3 separate regions of the Homo sapiens genome follow, and regions 1 and 3 are each linked to region 2. The links are contacts of gene promoters, found by promoter capture Hi-C in blood cells and fetal thymus (Javierre and others, 2016). All regions are on one chromosome and are shown on one strand. The core of a region is centred on a gene start or on the middle of the fragment in contact, and the rest is flanking DNA. Distances in the headings are between cores, read along the strand shown.

The links. The method cuts DNA at HindIII sites, captures the fragments that hold promoters and counts their contacts. A CHiCAGO score of 5 or more calls a contact.
Region 1: a contact is called between a fragment that was not itself captured here and the fragment with the promoter of BZW1 in region 2, in 1 of 17 cell types (neutrophils). The highest score is 6.2, in neutrophils.
Region 3: a contact is called between a fragment that was not itself captured here and the fragment with the promoter of BZW1 in region 2, in 2 of 17 cell types (megakaryocytes and fetal thymus). The highest score is 9.1, in megakaryocytes.

The regions. Positions count from the first base shown.
Region 1 is chr2:201,775,142-201,779,186 of GRCh38, reverse strand. All of the region lies in intron 1 of ALS2 (alsin Rho guanine nucleotide exchange factor ALS2), which reads left to right. Among named protein-coding and RNA genes, the nearest start is that of ALS2, 3.8 kb to the left of the region's middle. The HindIII fragment of the contact is 272 bases long and covers 1,848-2,119 here.
Region 2 is chr2:200,809,240-200,813,309 of GRCh38, reverse strand. BZW1 (basic leucine zipper and W2 domains 1) reads right to left here and starts at 1,400. Exons shown (of 12, transcript NM_001207067.2): 1 at 1,320-1,400; 2 at 29-102. The coding sequence starts at 92. It overlaps BZW1-AS1 (BZW1 antisense RNA 1), which reads left to right and starts at 1,140. Exons shown (of 4, transcript NR_110275.1): 1 at 1,140-1,525. RefSeq lists enhancers at 47-562, 563-1,078, 1,927-2,186 and silencers at 827-1,196, 1,727-1,876. The HindIII fragment of the contact is 7,792 bases long and covers 1-3,463 here.
Region 3 is chr2:199,968,102-199,972,262 of GRCh38, reverse strand. LOC124906112 (a long non-coding RNA gene) reads left to right here. Exons shown (of 3, transcript XR_007088012.1): 3 at 219-1,666. Among named protein-coding and RNA genes, the nearest start is that of MAIP1, 15 kb to the right of the region's middle. The HindIII fragment of the contact is 1,027 bases long and covers 1,405-2,431 here.

The DNA.
Region 1 (4,045 bases), core at 734-3,233, 970 kb before region 2:
TCCAAATTTCAGTTTTTCAGAATTTGGGCTGTCATTTGAAACACTTACTTTGGGCACTTTGACTGTTAAAGAAGCAAAGGGTATGCTAAGAACTTCAATGAGTCTTGATGTTAGTGTTTTTGTAATTAGGTGGAATCTCCTACCTTTTCATGAAAACTGGGTTTAAAGCAGTAGCTGCTGGGTCCATTCTAATGATAATCTCAAAAATGTGACTGACTTGTAAAAATCTACAATTATTTATTAATGTGAGACTAGGTAAAGTATGAGTTGAAAAACTAGGAAGAAAGGCAGAGTGGTGATTTTTAAGCTTGTATAAAGGAAGGCCCGCTTTGGGTACTATGAGGTACCTTTCTCACTCAGAGGCATGCTGTGAGGATTTGTGACTTTTAAATCATTTAGCTCTTTTTATAACTTTGTGGAATTAAATCTACCACGTATTTCAAGTGTATTCAGGATATGAATTTTCCTGGTAGAGAGTTTTAACAGATTTTTTTCTCTTAACCCTTCATTGATGACCAAACAATTTTGTTGTCTGTAATAAGAAAGTACTCGGTTTTGTAGGGTGTCAGTCCTTAAGAAAATGTTAGGTAGTCATCAATAAAATAGCAACAATCTCTGGCTTGTTTCTTTTTCATATTGCATTTAATTTTCCTTTCCCTGTCTCTTATTCATCTGTATATGTGATGGTGCTTTCTTTAGCTTATGTCTTGATGTTTGCCTGCATGTAGCTGAACTGATTGATCCAGGTGGGTAGAGGAAAAAATATTTAAATTGGTAGTTTTTGGAGCTATTGTATATTTCTTTCAAATTTGAAGAAAATTTACAGTTTTCTCAATACCTATGAGAAAAAGACTGGGGTTTGTTGGCAGAGTTTCGCTTAGCTGCTAGTGAATTATGTCCAGAGAGAAGATCAGCTTTCATCTCATTAATTCCACAAATTGATCATCTCATGTTTCCCTTAATTATCACATTTTAAATATTTTTCTTTTGAGTCATCACACAGTTCTTCAGTTCACATGGCCTCCCTATCAGGAAGGGAGTGGTTTAGACCCAATAATGGCATTTGGGTGGGCTAACATTCACTCCAGGATTTTTTTTTCTTCCACAGCCTAAATTTTTGTAGAGCCAAGATCTTAACTAAACTTGGGGCAATTGGCTAAGCAAACATATAACAAGGATGATTATAGCAGCTCTTTAAAAGAGCAATAAAGTAGAGCAATCCAACTGTAAAGATTAGTGGGGAAATGGATAAACTGGTTTATTCATGCAATTCAATACTATCTTCTCATAAAAATGAATGAGCTAGATCTATACTTACCAACATATATACATCTCAAGTATGTAATACTGGGTGAAAAAAGCAAAATGCTAAAGGATTTATACAGTAAGATGCATTTGTGTACACTTTGAAAGCAACATAATAGCATGCATTATTTATTGATATGTGTATATCTAATGAAAGTACATAAAAGTAAATATGAAAACGTGGGAATGGGATACATTAACTTTAGAAATAGTAACTAATTCTGAGTGGAGTTTCTTCACCTCTGTAACTTATTTTTTCTTGTGTTTTAAAAAAGAGCTGAAGCCAATATGAAAATATGTTAATATGTGTTAAAACTGGATGATGAGTACATAGATTTGTTATTTATTTTTACAGTTTTATGTATAGTTAAGATAGTTTGTGAAACTAGCACTTTAACATTTTTATTTATAATCAGGACTGTTTCCCAATATGTTTGCTTTATTTTACTTTGTACCCTCAAATTAGGAGACTGTGGAAAAAGAACTCTTCTTTCCCTGCAATAAGAAAGGAATGTGCCAGTGCAGCTCCACTATGTAAAGCTTTTCTAAGGAGAGGAGACAGACCAATTATTTGGTCAGTTTTGCTTTGCTGTTTGTGCTCCTGGGAAAATGCTTTCTTTAGGACATGAAGCCTGCAGGGGAATTAACATTCTAGAGATGCTTGGGAAATGTAGGCATATACCAATCATGAACTCTGGAAGTATAGGGGAGCAAGTTGTATAATAAGGCCCTCAAAGGAATTTGGACATGTTGTGACTCAGATACAAAATTACTACAGATTTGTGTAGTATTAGCATTAACACTTTGAAAAGCTTAACTTGGTTACATTTTATTACAACGTAGTTATCTTGAGTTTATACCTTGAATGCAAGTATCCCAGTTGTTGCTCAAAGAAAATAGTTGTCTCTATAGATATTAGTAAGTAACCTGATGACAATGTGTTAAATGGTTGACTAATGAATAATACGTTTAGTAGCTGATCCCTAATGTAACCTCAGTATTTAAACTTGTGAGTTAAACAATATTTTTATTTCTAATAAAGAGAACCTGCTACTAGCACTATTAAAGCAAGTGAAACTTGTATCACGAGAATAATATTTTTTAGTATGTGTATTTCCTGTTTAGTTATGTGGCCCCTGAATGATCCTAAGCACTGTTATCAGTTGGTGAAAGAAGTCATCATACTTTGAACTGTAAATCTAATATTGCCTTTGAAAAAATTGTGGCCATTTTAATAAGAGAGTAGTTGCAAATATTAACGGAATAAGTAGTTTGTGTCAGGACTTACCAGGACATTCACTGTACCATGTAATAACAGGCACAAATAGTGGCAGTACCTGGGAATTTGAAATTCATTTGTTAGTATTATAATATTCATCACAATGCATCATGGGATTATTATTTAATAATCCTGAAAAATGTGTTTAAAATATGCAGTGGGTACAAAAAAGAGCTAAATGGGCATTGCTGGGAACTTATTGTACCATGTTTACACACTTTCCCCCCACTCCACCATGAATAATTTCCGATTAGAGGATCGTCATAACCAGGAGAGTGTAGTTTCAGTAAGTTTCAGCATGAAATTAGCAAGGCATTAAAAAAAGACTGTAAAGTCTTCCTGTTTCTCATTGCACCAAAAGCTGTCTGTGTACTAAGGAGAAAGGGAGAAAGGAACACTTCTCTGAGTTGTTTAACCATTTTTAAAGTGACATGAGATAAAAGTGTCTTCATTGTTAGGATATACCTTTAGCAAATTATATATGAGAGTTTCTATTAGGAGAAGACACTTTTTTCTTTTGTATCTGTTACTGACTTTTATTACAGGCACTAGAAATCTATAGCGTGGAAGTCTGTGGATTGCAACTGAAAATCAGGGGCTGTATCTTTCACTCAAGCACTCACTTAAATGTAACCAGCTTGTTCAGAATGATTATTATGGGTACAAGAGTATACCGGTGAATAAGTCATAGTCTCTGACCTCCAGGAGCTTAAAATATATTTTGAATCAGTGACTTAGTGCATATCCTATTAGTAACAACATTATAACTAATAAGTAGCTTTCTAGGCCAGCCTACCGAATATATCCAATGCCTTAATTTACTGAATTCTCTTACTCTGAGTCAAGATTTGAAGGCTCATTGGCTCCCATACTGGTATCAGGCAATGCTTTCTGTGCAGCAGTTAAGGCTGAGAGGCGTGGGGTTCCAAGTGGCCTTCTTGGTGGTTAGTTGGCCAAGGCTTCAGTGCAAGGTGAGTTTTCCTCAGCCTTCCACAGTGGTTGGGAAGGCTTCAGTGGCAGGATATCCAGGAAGTAGCAGTTGTTGTTGGTGTATAGATTATTTGTAAGTCAGGTGTTTGAGTCAAAGGTTACCATAATCCATGTGTAAACATTGACCTAGCCTCTAAAAGCAAATTATTTATTAAGCATTTACCATGTGTAAAATACCAGACTCTGTTATTGTTTACTGCAAAGTGTAAACTCTGGTTTACTACATTGTAATAATATGTAACCAACTCAGACTTTAAAAAGGAGGTGTTAATGACTATAGGAAATTGATGGTAATTTTGTATCCAAATCACTTGTCACTCTACTACATTGTAATAAAATGTAACCAACTCAGACTTTAAAAAGGAAGTGTTAATGGCTACATGAAATCTATGGTAATTTTGTATCCAAGTCACTCAATGTCTATATTCCATTCAGGGCATTATGATACAGTTTACTCACCTATTATTTTTA
Region 2 (4,070 bases), core at 151-2,650:
AGAGAGACATTAAAACGTAAATATTTACCTCTTTTTCTAGTTTTAAAACGCTGGCCTGATAGCGTTGGCTTTTGCTGCTTTTGATTATTCATAAAAGACACCCTAGGAAAGGAGAAATAAAGCCTTAATATCAGTGCCATAATACTAATTTTTAAAGCAAAACATCAAACCTTAGTCTAGTCACATATGAATCAAATGGAACACCCACTCTCAGGATATAAAGCTGGCAATTATACCCGATACAGGCACAAAGAATTACCTGCACTTGAATCAAATGTACGTCAAAATGTGCATTTCTCTCTACAAGAAACCCTTCAAATTAGTGCTGTGAACTACTTTTAAGCGACATTGTAGTGCTACAGTGATCACCCGTCATAAACCTAATTGTTCAGTTTTCTCCACATTCCTCTTTACATTCACTTACATCTTCCACGACCACTAAGCATCGCAGAACGCAAAGAGAGATTATCACCATAGTCAGCAGGCATCCAAAATGTGTATGCCAATTCTAAAACACTGTCAAAAGGTGAACCCCTTCTTCTGACAAGCCTGGTTACGGGCAGCACCATCCTACCCTAGGTCATGCCTGTGACCGCAACAGCGGCCGCCTTGCACCACTCAGGCCTGCAAAACTAACAGCCAGCCCAGCCTCCTTCGCCCATATCCCACAGTCCTAGCCTCCTCCCCGGTAACGTGTCTCCCAATCCACACCCTTCCCATGCCTCCCGCCCGAGCCACAGATCACCCGCTTCCCGCCCAGGACCCCATCGGCCACAGCGGGGCGCCGTAGGGTCCCGCGGCTCTTTCTCCACTGACCCTGTCGCCTGCGGTGGCGGCCGCCGCAACGAGCGGACCACAGTCACTGAGGCGCTTTGCGCCGGGGCCCCAGGCGCCCCGTACATCCGCCCGCCCTCCAGCGAAAGCAGCGGCGGAGGCGGCGGCCGCAGCGGTGGTGGGTGGCAGCCCCTCCGCCCCGCCCGCCGGAAGCCCCCACGCGTACATCACACAACAGAGGCCGCGGCGGCTTTGTTAGCCAGGCCGGGCACGGCCCAGAGGGAGCCCGCCTCGGCCACTGCCTTCGCAGCCAGCGCCGCGGCGCACACCCGGACCCCACCTCCCCACCCGGGCCGCCGCTACCCCTCGGCCTCCCTGCCGAAGCGGCGGCCTTTCAGGCCCTAGATCCGGCCCGGCCTCAAGAGGCGACCTCCGTTCGGGCCCATCCAAGCCGGGCCGCATCCAGCCCGCCGCCTCCCTCTCCCTCTGCCCGGCGTCCACGACCCGCAGCGTCCGCCCGGGGTGAGCGGGGCGCCGCGTCTCACCGAATTTAAGGCGAAGAGGAAAGAGCCAGAAATCCCCGATGTACCGGCAACTGCGGCGGTGTCTCCTCTGCGACCGGAACTAACGCCAGGAGGAGGGAGAGGTGCCACCCCCGCCCGGACCGCTCTCCTATCGCGAGATTTCTTCCCCTTGCCCCGCCCTGATCGTGGACAGGCGCTTCCGCCTTTTCTATTGCGCGCGGATTAGGGTGAGGGACTGGGATAGGGGAGGGGAGAGACGTTTCCAGTCTTCTTTATTCCCTTACTGGGTTCCACGTCGCCTGGACACTTGTCCTAGACTAGCTTATTTTTCTTCCCCCGCTGCGTCGTCCGCCCTCTTCACACATGGAGGGGTTGGAAGAGCGGAGCCGGCCCCCGCCGGTCTCGAAGTTGGACGCGTCCTCCTGGAGTCCCTCGCCGCCGGCCCCCTCCTCCAGCACCGGAAGTCGAAGCCCGAGGGCGGGGGGCCCTCGGGTCGTGCGGGGGCGGAGGCTGGGGGCGGGCATGGGGGCGTGGTTTGGGGAAGGAATCCGCACCTCGCCTCCGCCCTGGCCGGGATGGGCGGAGTTCGCTCCAGCTGAGTCCCCTGCCTGGCGACTTTTCTCTGAGGGGCTGTCTCATTGTTCACTACCTCCCTTAAGAGCGAAGAGGACACAGGCCGAAGATTGAGAAGGGGAAATTCTGTCCTCCAACCGCGGTCCCTGCGCGCTGCAGCGGTTGTCTCCCGAGTGTGGTGGCTATGGGGACTTGGAGAGCATCAGAATCCCTTGGAGGACTTGTTATAACAGACTGCTGGGCCCCACCCGTAGTTTCTCATTCTGTAGGCCTGGTGTGGAACCCATGAATGTGCATTTCCAACAAGTTATCTGTGATGCTGCTGCTGGTCCGCACCTTGAGAACCCCTCAGTTAGAGGCTATATCATCAGGGAGCTGGGGTACGATCAGATTAGATAGTGCGTGTGAAAAGCACTGTGGACGTGACAAAACTCTGTGCAGATAAAGATGCACAGCGCCTCTAGGATGTAGCCCCATGTTTTTATTCACTGTACAGTAGTTTACTTCTCTCCAGTTGCTTCCTCACTCTCTGGTAGGAGGAGAGTGGCTTCTCTTCCCTAAACCTTTTGATAAAATAGTTTGTTGACTTCTTTTCCCTAATTAACTATCTGACCTCTACCCCACCCCCCCGCAACTTCATGGAAAAATGACTTTCTCAGCGTTCGTTCCTGAAATTATTGCCAAACCCAGTGTTTTATTCTTCACCCTGTTTGCCTCCTCTGAGCATTGAATGTTACCTACCTCTCTCCTTGAATCCTGGCTCCAGCTATCCTGGTTACGTTCTGAATGTGCCTTTGCACGGTATTTTCTGACTCTTCTTTTCTGTACTGATACCTTTTCTTTCTGGATACTTTCTTCTATGGCAGTCTCATACATTCTCAAGGATTTAACATTTACTCCACTTAAAAGAGTTCCAAGATCATCTACTGAATCATTAAGCAAATATTTGTTAAATCCAGGCTCTATGCCCTTCCAAGTTGAGGCAACAGCAGTGGGAAGGAGGCAGGAAACAAACTGCATCTGTTGGAGGAACTGCAAGAAGCTAGTGTGATTGGGAGGGCTGTGGGGAGCAGAGGGAAGTGGCTGGAGTCTGATCTCTAAGTGTCTAGCCCCTTCCTTTCTCCCAAGGCCCCAGTCCACACTATCTGGCATCTTCACTTCATGGCTAATTTAACACTGTCAGTGCTGTCAATTGCTCTTCCCCCAGAACTGTATTTTTCACATCTGAAGTTCTGTTAAAGGACAACGTTTCACAAATAAAAATGATAACTAATATGTCCCTATATGTATCAGGCCCTCTTCTATGCACTTTATGTAGTAACCCCATTTCATCCTGAAAACTACCCTGTAATCTAGACACTATTATTAGTCCCATTTTACAGATGGAAAAGCCGAGGCATCGAGGTCAGGTAACTTGTCTAAGATCATAGCGCTAGTAAGTGGAAGAGGTCCAGTTGAACCCAAGCAGTCTGGCTTCACCATTATAATGCACCGCCTTACCACCAAGATCTTATTTATTCATTCAACAAATATTTATTCAGCTAGAGACCAGTAGAGATAGTGACATGTTACGCCTATGGCCTCACAAAGCTTATCTTCTATTTTTGCCACGTTTTAAAATTGTATCATCTTTCCCCAGTACCATCTTGATTTAGGCATCTATTACCCCTAACTAAATGGGACTTTTGCAATAACTTCCTAACTGTACTATCCCCTTTCTCAACATTTCCAGAGCAATCTTCTCAACTGCAAGCTGAATCATTTCTCTTCACTGTTTAAATGCCTCTGTTTATACTCAGGGATAGCTCTGACCAATGTTTTTCACCTTTACTTCCCATCACATTTGTGGTTCTTAACCTGTTATTACCATCATTGTGGGGTATGTAGCAAATGATTTTTGACTAAAAATGATATTAAAGTAAGCAGATTATTTTCTTTAAAATGTAAAGTGGATTAAAGGTTTTCCTGAACTCCTGGCCTCAAATAATCCTCCCACCTTGGCCTCCTGAAGTGTTGGGATTACAGACCACACCTTGCCACTTATCTTTTCTCTGCTTTTGGGTGCACCCATGGGAATAGGCACCGTGCAGCTAGCAGGGGAAACGTTGTTTGTGAATTGTATTATGGTAGGAAAAGGTTCCAAACAATTGAACTCTATGCTTTGGTCAGACAGGACACATCTTGTCTTGACCTTTCTTG
Region 3 (4,161 bases), core at 669-3,168, 840 kb after region 2:
GGTATCAAAGTATCATCTCACAGATTACTTATTAACTATAAAGAGAAAAAAATGACTTTTACAACTGAGGGTTCTCATAATCACCACTCTAAACAATGGAACAATAAGAAATTAGGTACTGCCTGACGTTATATAATAGGAGGTCCGCAAATCACTTATATATTCTTGCCAAAAATGTTTCACCTGAATCTAATCAACTCTTTCGCCCTAACTTCCAGCTTACAGAAATGATGCCATAGAAAAACAAGCACATTCAAGATATGGGACATGCTGTGTGTCTACCATTCTAGACTTCTCCAAATTGCAGTGCCATAAATGAGGATGGGGATATTCTAAATTTTGAAACAAGGACTAAAGAGACATAACCAAATGCAACGGGTAAACCTTGACTGGATCTTGAATTAAAAAGTCATTTTAAAGACAACTGGTGAAATTTTAAATTTAAGTATTAGCTGATACTATGGAATTATTGCTAATGTACATGTGGTTATATAGGATAGTGTCCTTATCCTTTGGAAACACATATTGAAATATTAGGGTTGAAATATTAATACATGATGTCTGAAGCTTACTTTCAAATGCTTTCAATGAAAATATTTGGTCAAACACTATTCTAGATGTTTCTGTGAAAGTAGTTTTTGATGAGATTAACATTTAAACCACTATACGAATGTTAAATTTCTCTATATATGTTTCCATAGTTATCTATGTTTCTCTCTCTCTCCATAGATATGAGATAGATAAATATAAGTTTTGTTTCTCTGGGGAACTCTAATACAATACCCTTCTTTCAACTTTTCAGTATGTTTGAAATTTTTTCTAATGAAAAGTTAGGGAAAAAATTTAATTCAGATAATTTTTTAAAAACATTCAGGAGTTTTTAAAAACATTTTCCTGATCTAGCCAATGCTGACATTCAGGAGTTAAGTGCGTTATTTTGTAGCTCATAGCTATTCTTCTAGGAGAGAAAATTAGTCTTAATGGAGAATAGTCTGAGGAGCCTAGCCAACTAAAAATAAGCATCACCTGTTAGTTTGCAAATATTTTTGAGAATTTATTGTCTTAGTGGCTATGCTCAGTCCTGGGAAAAGAGTGGTAAGCCACCCAGAAGTAGTCCTTTCTAACTTCTTCCTGTGTCACTGTGTGTCCCATACTTGGCAAGCCAAGTTCATTTGGGTCAAAGTAGAACACATCTAACTAGTTCTTGATTTTAAGAGAATCTACAGGTTTTCTGATCAGGGAGCCTGTATTGATGATATAGCCACTTCGGTGAAAGCCAACAGTGACAGCTTCATATTTCAAAAGTCAGACAACTCCAGTGAACATGATATAAACTCTTTTCTTCCTCTGTTTGTTCCTCTGTGTGGTGTTCCTCACACCAACACAGAACACATTTAGAAAGCTTATTTAAAAACATGTCAAGTTCTCAGAGAGAGAAGAAGAATGGTTACCAGAGGCTGGGAAGGGAAATGGAGGTGGGGTGGGGGAGTGGGGATGGGGATGGTTAATGAGTACAAAAAAACTAGTTGGAAAGAATTAATAAGAGTTACTATTTGATAGCACAACAGGGTGACTATAGTCAATAATAATTGTACATTTTAAATAACAAAAAGCACATGATTGGATTGTTTGTAACACAAAGAATAAATGCTTGAGGGGATGGGTACCCCATTCTCCATGATGTGATTATTACACATTGCATACTTATTTCAAAACATCCCATGTACGTGCACCCCATAAATATATAACCCTACTATGTACCCACAAAAATTAAAAATAAAAAAATTTAAAAATAAGAAAATAAGTTCTGCTTTGGCCATAATAAACATTTATCCTGATGCCTTAAACACTAGACAACTCAGCAGATTACATGAAACTACTGTGCTCAAACACTGGACAGTAGGAAGCACAGTATTTTTATCTATGAAAGAAGAGAAACGAACAAGGCAGATCCTATGATAACCCAGATTTCTGTGTGGGGCACTTTCTAGACCACCCAGCCAGGGAAAAAAATCCCCAGCAAAACATGATAAACTTGCTGAATTGAGGAGACAGACATGGAAGGCCATGGAGTCTGAAGAGGCCAGAGGTGTAAGGCAAATGTTCAGACAGGAGCAAGCTATGCGGAACAAAACTTCAGAAGTTTGTATAGTAATTTCCTTGAGTTTTTAGTGAACTCTAAGCTATGAACAAAAGCTATAGAGTGAGACTCTATAAAGTCAAGCAAAGAGTGACTAGAAGCTGTGAAGTGAACAGTTCTCAGAGAGCCTGTAGTGCTGGGAATTCATTTGGGTTCCCTAAGCCAGCATGGAGAGTGCTGTCCTGTTTGATAACTCAGGGCATCCAGTAGAGACCCCATAAATTACTCCATACAAATGGGGCTACACTCTTGGTAGAGTAAAAACTAGTCTAGATAAACCCTAACAAAGCTTAACAATAGCCTCAAAAAAATCAACCTGAACCCCAAATAACCTAACTGGCTACCTAAGAGAACACAGTTCAACATTCTTCTCAAGGCAAATACTACCCAATGATACCCAGATATTCAATGACAGAAAATTCATAAATTCAGTGTCCAATAAAAAATTACTAGACCAGGCCAGGCCTGGTGGCTCACACCTGTAATCCCAGCACTTTGGGAGGCCAAGGCAGGAGGATTGCTCGGTCCAAGAGTTCAAGACCAGTCTGGGCAAAATAGTGAGAACTTGTCCCTATTTATTTTTTAAAAATTACTAGACCAGCCAAAAGCAGGAAAATGTGGCCCATAACCAAAAGAAAAATCACTTACTAGAAAGAGATTTTAAAGAAAGACAACTTTAAAACAACTGTTGGGCCAGGCAGAGTGACTCACACCTGTAATCCCAGCACTTTGGGAGGCAGAGGCAGGCAGATCACTTTAGCTAGAAGTTTGAGGCCAGCCTGGGCAATATAAGGAGACCCCATCTCTACAAAATCTACAATAATTAGCTGGACATGGTGGCATGCACCTTAGTCCCAGCTACTTGGGAGGCTGAGGTCGGAGGATCACTTGAGCCTGGGAAGCAGAGGTTGCAGTGAGCCAAGATCACACCACTGCACTACAGCCTAGGCAACAGAATGAAACCCTGTCTCAAAACAAACAAACAAACAAACAAAAAGCTGTTATAACTATGCCCAGCAAGTTAAAGGAAAACATGAACATAGAGAAGCTATGAGAAAGAATCAAATGGAACATGTAGACATGAAAACTAACACATCTGAAATAAAGCTGACATAATTCCACTCCCACCTTTCACTAACACAACACACTCTTCCTCAAAAATCCCTGTAAGATCAATGGTTTGCTCTGCTTGACAAGACTCCTCCCTTACTAAGGTAATAAATCAATTCAAATTTGGGGTTTTATATTGATTTTCAGTGGTGGTCTCATATTTTGACAACTATGAGGTTCCACCAAGGTTATTTTGATGACTCTAACTTAAAAATAAATAAAGGTGTCCTCATCAGGTCCCTTTGTGTCCAGATTTCATTTATCCTTTGGATTTGTTCCAAGTATATTTGTCTCAATATTGATCTGTACTCTGACTCTCAGTGAGCATGTATTGTTGAGTTTGTTAAATGAGGATTCCTATCAAAATAGTTCTTTGTAGATGGCATTGTCAATATTTTGGCCATTAATTTCATTATTCTTCAAGCGTGTGCTTGTTTTGCTTTAGTGCATCTACTAGTACAGAGTCTTGGCTTAGGACTTTTTTTTTTTCCTGTTTCTTTGTCTTTCATAGTCATTTTATTTCTTGGATATATAAGGGGGTTCTACATAGGGAATGAACAAAGGAATAAGTCCATTCAGCCTCCAATTCAATCCAAGTTGAGTCCAAGGACTATGAATTAGAGGTCCAGTAGACAATGACAAATTCATGATCAAACTTTGCCTTTTGTCCCCTAAACACCTTCATAGGGACACTTCCTCTTTTATCAATTAATGAAAGGCCATTTTGTTTAGTCCATATGCCAGGGTAAAAAATTGTCATGTCATTCATTGCATAGTCCCTTCTTAGCCCCAGTTGGTAGGTAACCCGAGATGCTATTCTTTAGCATATATTTTTGTTTGACTATAATGGCTTCTTTCTTGTTTGTCATGAATTTTTCTAAATTAAAGTCATAACTTCTTACTGGCAGAAC